Linked DNA regions of Homo sapiens: regions 2, 3 and 4 are each linked to region 1. Evidence: promoter capture Hi-C in 16 types of primary human blood cells and fetal thymus (Javierre and others, 2016). All regions are on one chromosome and are shown on one strand. The core of a region is centred on a gene start or on the middle of the fragment in contact, and the rest is flanking DNA. Distances in the headings are between cores, read along the strand shown. Region 1 holds the start of RWDD2B (RWD domain containing 2B). Region 2 has its middle 17 kb from the start of BACH1-IT3. Region 3 has its middle 14 kb from the start of BACH1-IT2. Region 4 overlaps BACH1 (BTB domain and CNC homolog 1).

What was found. Contacts are between HindIII fragments. The CHiCAGO score rates a contact against its expected background, and 5 or more counts as called.
Region 2: a fragment that was not itself captured here is called in contact with the fragment with the promoter of RWDD2B in region 1 in 2 of 17 cell types (neutrophils and non-activated CD4 T cells); the score reaches 6.5 in neutrophils.
Region 3: a fragment that was not itself captured here is called in contact with the fragment with the promoter of RWDD2B in region 1 in 2 of 17 cell types (neutrophils and naive B cells); the score reaches 9.3 in neutrophils.
Region 4: a contact is called between a fragment that was not itself captured here and the fragment with the promoter of RWDD2B in region 1, in 11 of 17 cell types (naive B cells, fetal thymus, activated CD4 T cells and 8 more). The highest score is 11.8, in naive B cells.

The regions. Positions count from the first base shown.
Region 1 is chr21:29,017,766-29,021,206 of GRCh38, forward strand. RWDD2B (RWD domain containing 2B) reads right to left here and starts at 1,584. Exons shown (of 5, transcript NM_016940.3): 1 at 1,446-1,584. The coding sequence starts at 1,512. It overlaps LOC124905005 (a long non-coding RNA gene), which reads left to right. Exons shown (of 2, transcript XR_007067836.1): 1 at 1-482; 2 at 1,148-3,441. RefSeq lists an enhancer at 1,425-1,674. The HindIII fragment of the contact is 4,408 bases long and covers 539-3,441 here.
Region 2 is chr21:29,477,388-29,480,828 of GRCh38, forward strand. No RefSeq gene overlaps it. Among named protein-coding and RNA genes, the nearest start is that of BACH1-IT3, 17 kb to the right of the region's middle. The HindIII fragment of the contact is 6,871 bases long and covers 1-3,441 here.
Region 3 is chr21:29,357,259-29,360,699 of GRCh38, forward strand. It overlaps a transcript of BACH1 not described here. Among named protein-coding and RNA genes, the nearest start is that of BACH1-IT2, 14 kb to the right of the region's middle. The HindIII fragment of the contact is 8,040 bases long and covers 1-3,441 here.
Region 4 is chr21:29,338,961-29,342,401 of GRCh38, forward strand. It overlaps BACH1 (BTB domain and CNC homolog 1), which reads left to right. Exons shown (of 5, transcript NM_001186.4): 5 at 3,439-3,441. Among named protein-coding and RNA genes, the nearest start is that of BACH1-IT2, 32 kb to the right of the region's middle. RefSeq lists an enhancer at 3,160-3,441. The HindIII fragment of the contact is 449 bases long and covers 1,313-1,761 here.

The sequences.
Region 1 (3,441 bases), core at 334-2,833:
GAGACTTTAAGGAACTGAAAAAGGAGGCCATGTGTTTTTCTTGGCCAAGAGTGTTCAAGGGAAAGCGAACAGCATATTCAAAGGCCTTGAGGAAGGAGGGTGCTAGAACAGCTGGCCAGAGCACAGTGAGCTGAGGACACGGGGAATAGAAGAGTTTAGTAAGGAAATGTGGGGCAGTTTATGTTGGGACTAGTAAAGCATGGCCAGAATTTTGAATTTTATCCCGACTGACATGTAAGAGCTACAAGAGAGGTTTGACTTATGAAGATCCCCACACTTGCTGCTATGGAGAAAAGTGAAAGGAAAAGTGGGGTGACCAGATATAGACACCGCAATAACTAGGGAGAGATGATGGTGGCTTTGATAGGATTATAGTGGTCAAGTTGGTGAGCTTCAGGTTCTGGATACATGCAGAGAACAGAGGCAACAGGATTTACAGATGAATTACATGAGACACGGAAGAATGACTCCGGGGCTTTAAGGTACTGAAAGTATGGATCTGCCATTTATTTAGACGTTGATGGTCATGGGGAGCTGAAGCTTGGTTTTAGACACAAGTAATGAAGTGCCTACTAAGACACCTGTTAAATAGAGAGGTCTAGCAGGCAGTTAGATGTATAGTTTTGAAGTCTACGAGAGACTCAGCTAGATATATAATCTTGGGAGTCAACACTTATTTGGAACTATATATTTGTTTAAAGTCTCCCAGGGAGTGAGTAAAGTTGGGAGAGGGTGCTATTGAATTGGAGGTATCGAAGATGAAATGGGATTAGCAAAGAAGAACGGGACGGAGGGACTCTTGAACGGACAACTACGGGAGTGATGTCACAGGTCATTTATCTGCCAAATTATTTTCGCTTAAGAGATTTCAGTCCTTCCAAAAAACCCTCAAGATAATTTTATGATTCAAGATTTCAGCGAATGCTGTAAGATAATAGACTGTGGCCGGGCGCGATTGCTCACGCCTGTAATCCCAGCACTTTGGGAGGCAGAGGAAGGGGGACTGCTTGAGCCCAGGAGTTCAAGATCAGCCTGGGTAACATAGTAAGAGCTCGCCTTTATTATTTTTTTAAAAAATAAAATATATTTAAGAGAACGCAGACTGAAACTTGAGATTTCTGAGTGGAATAATATCTTTTCCTTGCAGATTTTTTTTTGAAGAACAGAGCAGGGTACCCCGCGACCCAAGCCAAGACGCTCTCAGGAAGAAAGCCCAGCACGCAGCCGCCCTCGCACCCTGATTGCCCCCGGGGCGAGGTCCCCGGCTGGAGCAGGGCTGCAGAAGCCGGGAAGCAACGCCGAGGACCGAGCCGACCGATGGGCGCATGCAGTGAGGGGAACCGGGGCCGCCATGCCGGGCACGTTCCCAAAGGGTTGCACTGGGCGCTGCAGCGTGGGAAACCCCCGTGGCGGTCACCACTGGCGCTAGCTGAGGCGAGACTCACCTTGAGCCGTGGCCCCCTCACTGCTGTAACCCGGGTTCCATGGCTGCATGGACAGCTCAATTTTCATCAGAAGGGAGCCTCAAAATTCTAGCATACTGCGACCCAAAACTTACAAACCGCCTCAGCTGGCGACCTACCGGAAAAAAAAAAAAAAAGCATGCGGCGCATGCGCGTCCAAGGCCGCGGACCGGAAGCTGGGGCTCGCCTGTTGGGAGCCGCGTCCGCCGGTGTTGGTGTCTGCACTTGGAAGGACGTAGGGAATGCGTTGTCCCTGCTAGGTACTTTTCAGTCGCAGAGTTCTCTTCTTCTTCTTTCTTTCTTCCTTTTTTTTTTTTTTGAGACGGAGTCTCGCTGTGTCTCTCAAGCTGGAGTGCAGTGGCGCGATCTCGGCTCACTGCAGCCTCCGCCTCCTGGGTTCAAGCGATTCTCCTGCCTCAGCCTCCCGAGTAGCTGGGATTACAGGCGCCCACCACCATGCCCAGATAATTTTTGTATTTTTCAGTAGAAATGGGGTTTCACCATGTTGGCCAGGCTGGTCTCGAACTCCTGACCTCAGGTGATCCACCGGCCTCGGCCTCCCACAGTGCTGGGATTACAGGCCTGAGCCACCGTGCCCGGCCGGAGTTTTTCTACTTAATACCTCTCCATGCCAACCCCGTTGTCATTTCCCAGCGGCCGCCTCTATAACGGGCACTTTTCAGGGACAAAGAATTGGTCCGTTAATGTTCCTCAAATTCGAACGCGCCTAGGAATAGTTCGGGGATCCTGTTGAAGTGCAGATCAGGATTCCGTAGGTAGGGGTGGGGTTCCAAATTCTACATTTCTAGTATCTTCCCACACGATGGTGATCCTCCTTGTCCCTGAATCATGGAGGAGGGCAATTAGGGAGATGTGAGCCTGGATGCATGGTGGCCTTGGCTATCTTAGGTGTTCTTGCCCATTAACCAAGCTGGGAGGAACCGTGTGAATGCATATCTATCCCTGTTAATAAAAGGGTAGTTTGAAGGAGATGCTGACAGGAGAATAATTAGAAATGTTTTTCTTCCCAATCCAACTATATGCAATACACTTTATAATATTCATTTTAGAAATGTCATAGATAAGATTTGTAAACATTGACATTTAGCAATACTAAATATCACTGCTAGGTCTCCCCTCCACTTTTTTTTTTTAAACAAAAATACGACAGTATGTATTGTAGGTCTTCATAAACTACGTCTTCTGCATAGTGTTTCATGAGCGTTTTTCAATGTCATAATTTATTTTTTCCTCCAACATTTATTATGAAAAAATTCAAGTGTAAAGCGAAGTCGAGAGAATTTTACAGTGGAGCAGACCTCAAGAGAAGGGGAAGGATGGATTTCCCCTCTATTTAGCAGTGTCTGAAGACATTTTGGGTTGTCACAACTGGAAGGATGGTATTGGCATGGGGTAGGTAGAGCACAGGGATGTTCCTCAACTTCCTACAATGAACAGGACATCCCCCGACAACAACAAATTTGCTGGTCCAAAATGTTGATAGTGTTGAGGTTGAAAAACACTGACCTGGAGAGTACAGAATTTTACTCTACCAGCTTTGTCACATACCTCATCAATCTATCTGTTTTCATACATTTAAAAGTAAACTGCAGACAGTACGCTTCTAAGTACCTCTAATGCACATCATTGGAGTTCAAATTAAGGATTTTTTAAGGTAAAAATGAAATGCATACCTTAAATACACATCAGTTTTTAAATGCACACGCCTATGGAACTCAAGCCATATTAACATATAGAACGTTACCATCACCCTAGAAAGTTCTTTCATGCCCTTTCTTAGTTCCCAACCAGTTCTCCCCAAAGGTAACCACTGTTCTGATTTTTTCCCCCACCATACTTATTTTTCTTGTTATAGAACGTCATATGGTTGGAGTCATGCAATAGATATTTTTGTGTAAGGGTTCTTTCACTCAGGGTAATATTTTCATCTGATATCATGTGTATCACTTTCTTTTGA
Region 2 (3,441 bases), core at 273-2,772, 460 kb after region 1:
TAATGTCTGACCTGATGTTTGTGGCTGCACTTGCTGTATGTCCTCAGGCACAACAGCTATTAGCTTTGTTGTGAATTTTAGAGGGAGTCACTTGTTCAGGCAATGGATACTGCATATGTGGCACTCTTTGCAGGTCCAGCTGGGTGACATGCTGAGAACAACCAGGTGTGCTCCCCGAGCTCATAGCACATATGGTCAGGTGGATAAAACAACCTTGATTTCAAACAAAACACCCAAAGGAGTGCATGTGTAATCACACACTGAAGGAAGAGCTCCGAAGGAAAAAAAAAAAAAACATGTTGTAGAATCACAGCAGACAACCACAGACCTGCTCTAGCTGGGTGGTCAGGCCGGGTCTCCCTAAAAAGTTAGACTGAAGGTGAAATCTGAAAGATGGATTGACATTAAGCAGGGAAAGGCAGTGAGATGGGAAGGGGAGTGTTGGTGGAAAAGAATGGGCCCAGGCAGAGGACAGAGGTGGGAATGGTGTGTCTAAGGAATGCAGGTTGGAGCACAGACAGCTAGAGGAAGAGAGCGTGAAATGAGGCCGGGGAGAACAGGCTGACCCAGAGGGCTACGGCAGAGCTGGTGTATTAGTCAGGGTTCTCCAGAAGGACAGAACTAATGGGATAGAGGTATATACTAAAGGGTGTTTATTATGGAGAATTAGCTCTCAAGGTCACAAGGTGAAGTCCCATCATAGGCTGCCTGCAAGCTAAGGAGCAAAGAAGCCAGTAGTGGCTAAGTCTGAGTCACCAAACCTCAAAAGTAGGGAAGCCAACGTACAGTCTGTGGCCTAAAGCCCAAGAGCACTCAGCAAACAACTGATGTAAGTCCAAGAGTCCAAAAGCTGAGGAACCTAGAGGCTGATGTTTGAGGGTAGGAAGCATCCAGCATGGGAGAAGGACGGAGTCCAGAAGACTTAGCCGTTCTAGTCTTTCCACGTTCTTCTGCCTGCTTTTATTCTGGCCGTGCTGGCAGCTGATTAGATGGTGCCCACCCAGATTGAGGGTGAGTCTGTCTCTCTCAGTCCACTGACTCAAATGTTAATCTCCTCTGGGAACACACTCATAGACACACCCAGAACAATACTTTGCATCCTTCAATCCAATCAAGTTGACTCTCAATATTAACCATGACAGCGGAGGAGCTGTTGTTGATACAGGAGGGTGTAATGAGTTTATACATTGAAAATAGCCCTGTTGCTGTAGAAATAGCACATGGAAGTGAAGTGGTGCCCAGGATGCCACAGGAGCAAAAAGGTGGCCATGCAAATCCTGGCACAAGAGAGAGGAACTTGGATGAGAGGACAAGGGCCTGGAGACTAGTGGCCAGATTCAAGAGACAGGTGGGACCTAAAATGGACGGAACTTTGGGAGGAATTGGGTAGGAAGGGGTGGTTAAGGGAAGACAGCATCATGGGTCATTCTGGCTGGAGTAACAATGTTTGATGGTCTCTTCAGCAAGTGAGGGGACACAGACTGAAGACAGGGTCAAGGTTAGAACATGACTTGGCTGCTTAAACGCAAGGACAAAGGTTGGGATCTCCACAGATGGACACAATGGAAAGAGGGAGAAAGACAAAAGAGTTTGGAGTATTAGCAAGTCATACAAATAAAATGTTTCTAAAATGCTGCTTTACACATCATTAGGAGTTTAATTATGGTTATTTTCATTCTCTGATCTGCTTCTTCTGTTCTTTTTCTCTTCCTTCTTTCTTTTTCCTTCCTTTCTTTACAGAATTTTATCTCAGCTTGCTCAAGTTTAATTGCAGAAAGTCTCACATTTTTCTACCTTATGAATCTCTAAGATCTTTTCCAGAGTTTTTACAAAGGGTTTATACAAATTTTGGTAAAATTGAGTAACTTTTCCAAAAGACCAGATACCTGGACCAGCTGGTAATTTGTCATAATTTAAAATTATTTTTATTTTAATGCACCTTTCACTCTATGGTTTTGTATTTTAATGCATCTCTTAACTATACATGGTTGATTTATAGTGTGACTTTGGATAAGTTATGTGACCCTTCTTTGCTTTTGTTTCCTAATTTGAAGAATAGATTAGTAAAAAGATGATATAATAATCATCTTTTTAATGGGTTGTTTTGAGGACTAAATGAGTGAAAACTCATAAGGTGCATTATAAGCACTTAATAAATATTAGTGTTGTTGGTAGCTATTGTTATGGCATGGGCCAGAATGGTAGACTGGGAGACCCACAGACAGAGCTAGAACTTAAGCAATGGAGGTTAAAGCTATGCTTAAATTACCTATGTGATGAAAGCTGGTGTTTCCTGGAGTTTACGATGCAGTTTGCATTATGGACGGAAAGTTTTTCTGGGTAGTGAAAGGAGAGTAGCCAGTGGGTGTTCATGCTTGCATGGCGAGATGAAGAATACACTTGGGTTTACACCCCTTTGTGTCTTTTTGGATGGGCCTTCTCTGAGTGACATGAGGAATACTGATACAGCTCCATAATAGCAGTAATAAGACCTGATATGGAGTAGGGGGGAGCTCAGCAGTTGCCAGCCCTGAACACACTTTATCTCGTTGAACTCCATAAGAGCCCTGTTGGGTTGAGTCTATTTTTGTTTCCGTTTTAGCAATGTGAAAAACCGAGATTACATAACTTGCCAAAGTGGTGGAGCTGGAAATCCAGATATTCTAGCTTTAGAGATCAACCAATGTGAATAAACAACTTCCATTTTCCCAGTCACATTTCCACTCCTAAAGTTTTCCCTAATCTCCAAGTTTTTACACTATTAAGAAGAATGCAGTCATGCAGATTTTGTTTTCTTTACCTTGAAAGAGGAGAGTTTAACCAGCTAAGGTATGTGTTGGTTGCAACAATCCTTAAAGACACATAATCCTAAGTTTCCATATTTTTTTTTTTGAGATGGAGTCTCACTCTGTTGCCAGGCTGCAGTGCAGTGGCGCAATCTCAGCTCACTGCAATCTCCATCTCCTGGGTTCAAGAGACTCTCCTGCTCAGCCTCATGAGTAGCTGGGACTACAGGCATGCGCCAACACACCTGGCTAATTTTTGTATTTTTAGTAGAGCCGGGGTTTCACTATGTTGGACAGGATGGTCTCGATCTCTTGACCTTGTGATCCACCCGCCTCGGCCTCCCAAAGTGCTGGGATTAGAAGTGTGAGGCACCGCACTTGGCCAAGTTTCTATACTTTAATGAGTGAAGAAATGGATGAATTCAAATATATTGGTAATGACAGAGATAATAAACATAGTTGCATAATCAAACCACTGTCTCCAACGGCCAGTTGCTAGAAGTAGGAAAGACATCTAAGTGAAGGAAGACAGAGCAATCAGATTCTGACCTTCCATATTTTGCAACTTATTTTTTTATTCATTCAATATAAACTTAGTAAGCTCCTACTATGGTCCAGGCCCTGTGTTTTGCTTTTATATCAGAATCTCGGTCAT
Region 3 (3,441 bases), core at 549-3,048, 340 kb after region 1:
CTGCCCTTCGTATCCCATTCTCCACAAGTGAACTTCCGTCGGTATATAGGTTAAGGTGAGGATTAGCTACGGGGACTTCTAAGAGATCATGTCAGGCGGCCTAAGTCTGGACTACAATTTGTTGGCAGTCACGCTCGATTGGTTCCCCATCCTCTGGGAGAAAAGTGGCAGGGTTGAGGGCCACGCATGTACATATTTGAAGCACCAGTCCCTCAATGAGTAGCGCCTGGTATCTGAGTAGGTGGTTGTCTGATAGCCATAAACTTCCTTTGGCACCTAGTATGCCATTTACATCATGAGTAGTCCAGACAGTGAGATCCTTTCCTTGTATTATTTTGATAGCCTCTGACACTAAGATGGCCACCGCCACAACTACCCTTAAAGAGTGAGGCCAGCCTTTCGCTACTACATCAATTTCCTTACTTAGGTATGCCACTGGTTGTGGGGTTGCCCCATGAGTCTGAGTAAGGACTCCAAGAGCCATCCTTGCTCTCTCTGTGATGCATAAAGAAAAGTTTCATCCTGTGGGAAGGCTTAAGGCTGGAGCTTGAGTTTGTTCCTTCCAATGCCCAGACTTCAGGGTTGATTCCCTCCTCAAGTAGGGGACAACAAATGGGTAACTCGTTCCCCATATTCATGTAGATAATAACTCCAGCTTTGGCTACTCCTACTGGATCTAGTGGAGTCAGCGTGATCCGCTTCTCCCACTCACCTAGTCCCCACACGCCCTGAGAGCTAGTCCCTGTGGTCTGATGTCCACCCCTCACTTCTTCTGCCCTTTCCTTATACTTCCCTGCTGGAGTGACTGGAAGTGGGGATGCTCTTCCCTGGACACAGGGGAGAAGGAGGGCCCCTGGGGTTGTCACTTCCTCTGCCCTTTTGGGTGGGGCAGGAAGGGCACATTTGATGTTAGCAATTCAGCGTAAAAGTGAAAACTAATTTGGCCTCAAGATTTAAGAGTCATCCAAACAACAGTTACAGGGCTAATATCTTTAATCTTTACACATTTGACAATATCCAATAAAAAGAACACCAAACTACATCAAGACAAAGGAGCAACAGACATGGGCCTGCAGAGGACAAAAGAGAAAACAGGAGCACTCAATAACCAGGAACTCAGGGACTTTGGAGGCAACCTGTGTGGGTTAAACATGCTTTTGAAGATTTTTATCATTATTTCTCATTAGAAATATAAAAAGTGGGCTGGGCGCCGTGGCTCACGCCTGTAATCCCAGCACTTTGGGAGGCCGAGGCAAGTGGATCACGAGATCAGGAGTTCAAGACCAGCCTGGCCAACATGGTGAAACCCCATCTCTACTAAAAATCCAAAAATTAGTTGGGTGTGGTGGAGGGCGCCTGTAATCCCAGCTACTGGGGAGGCTGAGGCAGGAGGATTGCTTGACCTCAGGAGGCAGAGGTTGCAGTAAGCTGAGATCACACCACTGCATTCCAGCCTGGGTGACAGAGTGAGACTCTGTCTCAGAAAAAAAGAAAAGAAAAGAAAAGAAAAGAAAAGAAAGAAAGAAAGAAAGAAAGAAAGAAAGAAAGAAAGAAAGAAGAAAGAAAGAAATGTAAAAAGTGCTAAATAGAAAGAAGTAAAAAATATATCAAATTAGAAAATAAAAAATGAGGGGGAGTGAAACTGGCATTCTAACACAAGGGGGGTAGTATTTAAAATAGCTTTTATGCTTTGGGGAAGCAGTTTGATATTTTATTTAAAACATTTTAAACTAGCCATAACATCAGACACAGTAATTGTATGCCAAGGAATCCATCCTGAAGAACAATAATCTTAAATTTTAGGACTATTATTAATCCATAATAATAATAATAAAAATTTCTTCTTATATCAAGATGTCCATCATAGCATTTATCATAGTAAATAATTTTGAATAGACCTTTAGAAATGGAAAAAAGCAAAGCACTATATTGTATCTCTACTCAAACTAAGATTTGACACTGTACTCGGCTCTTTTTATAATTTTTCCCTTAATCCTCACAGTAAAATCAAATGTTTGACACAATGATTGTCTCTTTATGAGTTTTTAGCTAACAAAATGTTTATGGTAAACATGGAATAAAATGAAAAATACTCATGACAGATGCTAAACATGAAAGCAAGTGATTTATGTATCTAGTATGATTATAACCAGGTATATCGAAATCTCTCTGTGAATAAAAAAAATTGAAGTCCATCTGGGGTGAACAGTTGTTATTTATTAAAATTTGCTTTTGCGAGTACTCATGAATCTTGAGACAATAACCACCACCACGATTATAAAACTATCAAACACGATTTTAAGCAAAGAAAGAAATGGGGAAAACCGTGAAAGGAAAATAAATCTCAAGACTCCAGAATCACTAAGCCAAAGGGAAAAGTCAAGCTGGGAACTGCATCAGACAAACCTGCCTCCCATTTTATTCCTAAATAAAATAACTACAAAGAAAAACAATAAAAATAAAAAAGCTACATACCTCCCTCACAATTTGCCCGTAAGGAAATTCCTTGTGAGCCTCAAAGATCTTTACCCTAAAACAGTTCTGTTGAACTTCATCCTGGCCATATTAATTGATACCTTATCTTCACAGGCCCAGGACAGAGGACAGACAGAACTCTTGATCATTGCTCTGCTCACCTGTGACAAATGCATTTCTCATTGCTTCCTCTGACCTATTGTTTATGTAAAAATGCAGATTCACTGAGTCAGACTAAGGCATCAGTGACTATTCCTCTATTCATTCCACCTCACATGTATTCAGTGAAAGGCTGATCGAAGACCCCAAAGAATGAAACCTTTTGTCCCTTATCTACCTCTGACCTGGAATCCCTTACTTCGAGTTGTTCCACCTTTCTGGACCAAACCAATGTACCTCTTATGCATATTGATTGAGGTCTCATCAATGTATAAAATCAAGCTAAAATGTATAAAACCAAGCTGTGCCCTGACCACTTGGGTACATGTCATCATGTACCCAAGACTTCCTGACGCTGTCATAGGCACGTCCTTAGCCTTGGCAGATAAACTTTCTAAATTAATTGAGACCTGTCTCAAATACTTTGGGCTCACAAAACGTAGCTGTCCATCAGGCAGATATCTAAAAGCAAGAAGTGATATTTTACTCAGCTAAAAGCTGCTATTTTGTCGGCGGCCTCAGAGGCCTTCCACAATGAACTCCCTCCCCAACCCTCTGGCCTCATTCCCAGGCCCCTGTCCTCTCCTGGGAACTCCTGGGAATGTCATGTTTGCCCCATTGTCATCTTGTCAGTGAGGCTCCCCTGACTGCCCTCATTAAGACTGCATCTGGCCAGGCGCAGTGGCTCACGCCTGTAATCCCAGCACTTTGGGAGGCCGAGGTGGGTGGATCACCTGAGCTCAGGAGTTCAAGACCAGTCTGGCCAACATGGCGAAACCCTGTCTCTACTAAAAATACAAAAATTAC
Region 4 (3,441 bases), core at 287-2,786, 320 kb after region 1:
GGAAATATTTTTTCTTAGTTCAGAGAGGTTGTCATTCGTTTTCCAGCTCCATAGTACTCAGTAGTGACTGTAATACAGTTCAAACCAGTCTTCTGTGGGTGGACAGTTGGGATCCTGCAGTGAATAACTGTATACTGTTTCATGTTTAAGGAGCTGTGTCTCTAGGACACATTCCTAGAAGTGGGATTGTTGGATCAAGGGTAAATACATACATAATTTTATTAGATATTAACAGATTCCCCTCCTTAGGAATTGTCATATTTGGCCTTCCAGCAGCAGTATATGTGTGTGTGTCTGTCCACACCCTCAGTCAAGATTTGTTGTCAGCTTTTGGGTTTTTTCCAGTCTGATAGTGAGATACCATGATATCTCGTGGTAGCTTTTATTTTTATCTTATGAGTGAAAATGAGCATTTTTGCTTATATTTCTCAGTGCCATTTGCAGATTTCTCTGAACTGCCGTTCAGAGGTTTTACTTACTAAGGAACTATTAGTGACCATTTTCTAACAGTGAGTACTCTTTACCCTATCATAAAATTGTCACTTGTACTTTTGGTGCCAAATTCTTCTATATCTTTATTGGGTGAGTTATATTTATGATCTTTAAAAAAATTATATTTGAATAAATATTGTGCACTAGCTATTCAAAATAAGGATTTAGATGCAAAGGTTTTTTTTTTTTTTTTTTTTTGAGACAGAGTCTTGCTCTGTCACCCAGGCTGGAGTGCAGCGGCACAATCTCGGCTCACCGCAACCTCCGTCTCCCAGGCTCAAGTGATTCCCCTGCCTCAGCCTGCCCTTTTAGCTAGGTTTACAGGTGTGTGCCACCATGCCCAGCTAATTTTTTTGTATTTTTATTAGAGACAGGGTTTCACCATGTTGGCTAAGCTGGTCTCGAACTCCTGACCTCACATGACCCGCCCACCTCAGCCTCCCAAAGTGCTGGGATTACAGGCGTGAGCCACTGTGCCCAGCCTGTAAAGATTTTTTGTTGGTATAAAATCCAGAATGGTACCAGAATGCCAATTTTATTCCTTTTTAAGAAATAGCTCTAATTAAAGGTGCAGCACTTCAAACGTGATTTATACAGTTGTTTTTATAGGAAAATGGAAATATATTGTAGGGATAGGTAGCAGGACACTAATAGTGAGTCCCACTCATGACTGTAAGTAGTGACTTTGGGAGGTATCTTAAATACTGATGTCATTAAGTAATTAACTTGAATTACTTGTATTTTACTTTTAGTTATTAAGCTGACTGCTATTATAGTAAATATGTGTCTTAAACTTAGAGTGAAATGGAAACTGCTTAGAAGCTTAGCTGTGTAGGAGTTAAAGTGCAGGGGAACAGATGGGAACATTTAATTTATAGAAATAATTCTGGTGGAGTTCTAGGGCTGTGCCTATTTGTTTTAGTTGTTGTGAAGAAGCAAGCCATCTTGTATACTTAAAGAATGATGTCATCCCTAATTTAGTGGGGTGGGAGGAGTGAGAGTATTTAAAGATCATGTGGATATTAAGATACAGAAGTCATAAAATATTTGTAATCTTCATAGTATCTGTAGGTTAAGTAGTGGTTCTAATTTCTGGGAGGAAGCTCAAGTACTCCTTATTTTGTTGAACCATATTTAATTTAAAAGACCAACCAGCAGTTGAAAATTTTCTATTGCTGTTTAGAATAGATTCATCCCAACTTTGGTAGAGGAGTCCATGGCTGAATATTGCCATGAGTGAAGAAAGATTCTTTCTCACTTTCTTCTGGAAGCTTTGTTTTCATCCTCCTTTGGATTGGCTTCTGAGAGACCATAAAAAGAAATGGGTGTTGATTGCATTTAATGGTTCCTACTGTGAACAAGCAGTAGGTACCGTTCTTGCCCTTTCAGTATCTGCAGACTCATTTTATCAGAAGAGTGCAACTGATAAACTTTGCATAAGAGAAAATGTACTGGCCAAACATTGATTTTGCTTACATACACATACTTAACACGCACATTCTTGACCTACATCTATTTAAAAAAAAAAAAAAAAAGAACTTGTATATAAAAATCTGAACAGATTGGAGAATACTTTGCCATATAAAAATTTAGTATTTTGTATTTATTGTATATTTTCTCAAAATATTACAAGGCTTTAAAATATTTTAGAAATAACAATAATTGGATTCATACATAATTTTATAGTAATACTTTTGTATAAAACCATAACAATACTTTTGTATAAAGCAAAATTCGTTTTACCCTTTTAGTGACTTTTATGTCATAAAAGACTAAAGGATGGCACTTATAGATTAGCACTATGAACTAACTTGTCTCAAGGTTAACTGGCAGCCTCAACTCTCCAGAACCTGTCAATGAACAGAAAGCAAACAGAACAACACTGACTTGTTGAGAGTTGTGATAAATTTCATAAGAAAAACGTTTGACTTTCTAGCAAGTGTTTATTTACTCTTTTCTTATAAATACCTTGATTATTTGGTTTCCTGGCTCATAATAGATTAGAAGCAATAAGATGTTAGAACAAGAAGGATGAAATGGGATGATAATAGAAAAGACATGCTGTCAGCAGTGATAAGTGACATGGACAGGAAGGCAGGAACCAGAAAAACTTTTGAAAAATTCTGTGGTAGACTTTCTTATAGGGGTAATATCTTAAAATTATAATAATAACAAAAATGGTAATTAGCAAGCACAAAATTACCCCCCCGAATTCTTCACACTTTAGTAACTCACCCACCGGCTGTCTCTAGGCATCTTAAATTCAGTCCCATCCCTTCAGTGGGTTTGATGTTGCTTAAATCAAGAGAGGTGTTGTGTGGATTACATAGCTGAGATTGCATGTTGGAAAACATTTAGCACAATATCTGTCAGAGAATCTGCTCAACAAATGCTGGTCATTAGTTGAATCTTGCAATGCTTTGAGTCTCAGTAATTAAGTTATGCTAACTGTACTTTTACTTTTTTTCTTGTATCCCATCCAAAATGCCATCCATACCTGTTATGTACAGTCTGTAAATCCAGAAAGCTCCAAAAACCGTATGTTTGTCACAAACTCTTTTGACCGAAAAACTGCCCCAAATTGACATTAGACTACATAGTCTTTATCCTACTTTCTTCATTATTTGCTATTTTAATGTTTACCTAGAAATGTAAAGATAGTTGATAGGGAAGTGCTGCCCCAGGCCTGCTAGAGAAATTATGTGTGCACCCATACTGTCTTTCCAAAACCTGAAAAATGCTTTGTGCCAAAATACATCTGCCCCAAGAGTTTTGGGTGGGAGATTCTGGGCCTTTAGTATTTAATGTATAATTGAATGGAATTGAAAGGATAAACTCCATGTGATCTTACTTGATGAGAAGCCCCTGTATATTATTTGATCGCCTTGGAAATGTTGATTGAGCTAATAAACACAAGCCATTGTGTTCTCTTTCCCCACTTCACAGCAA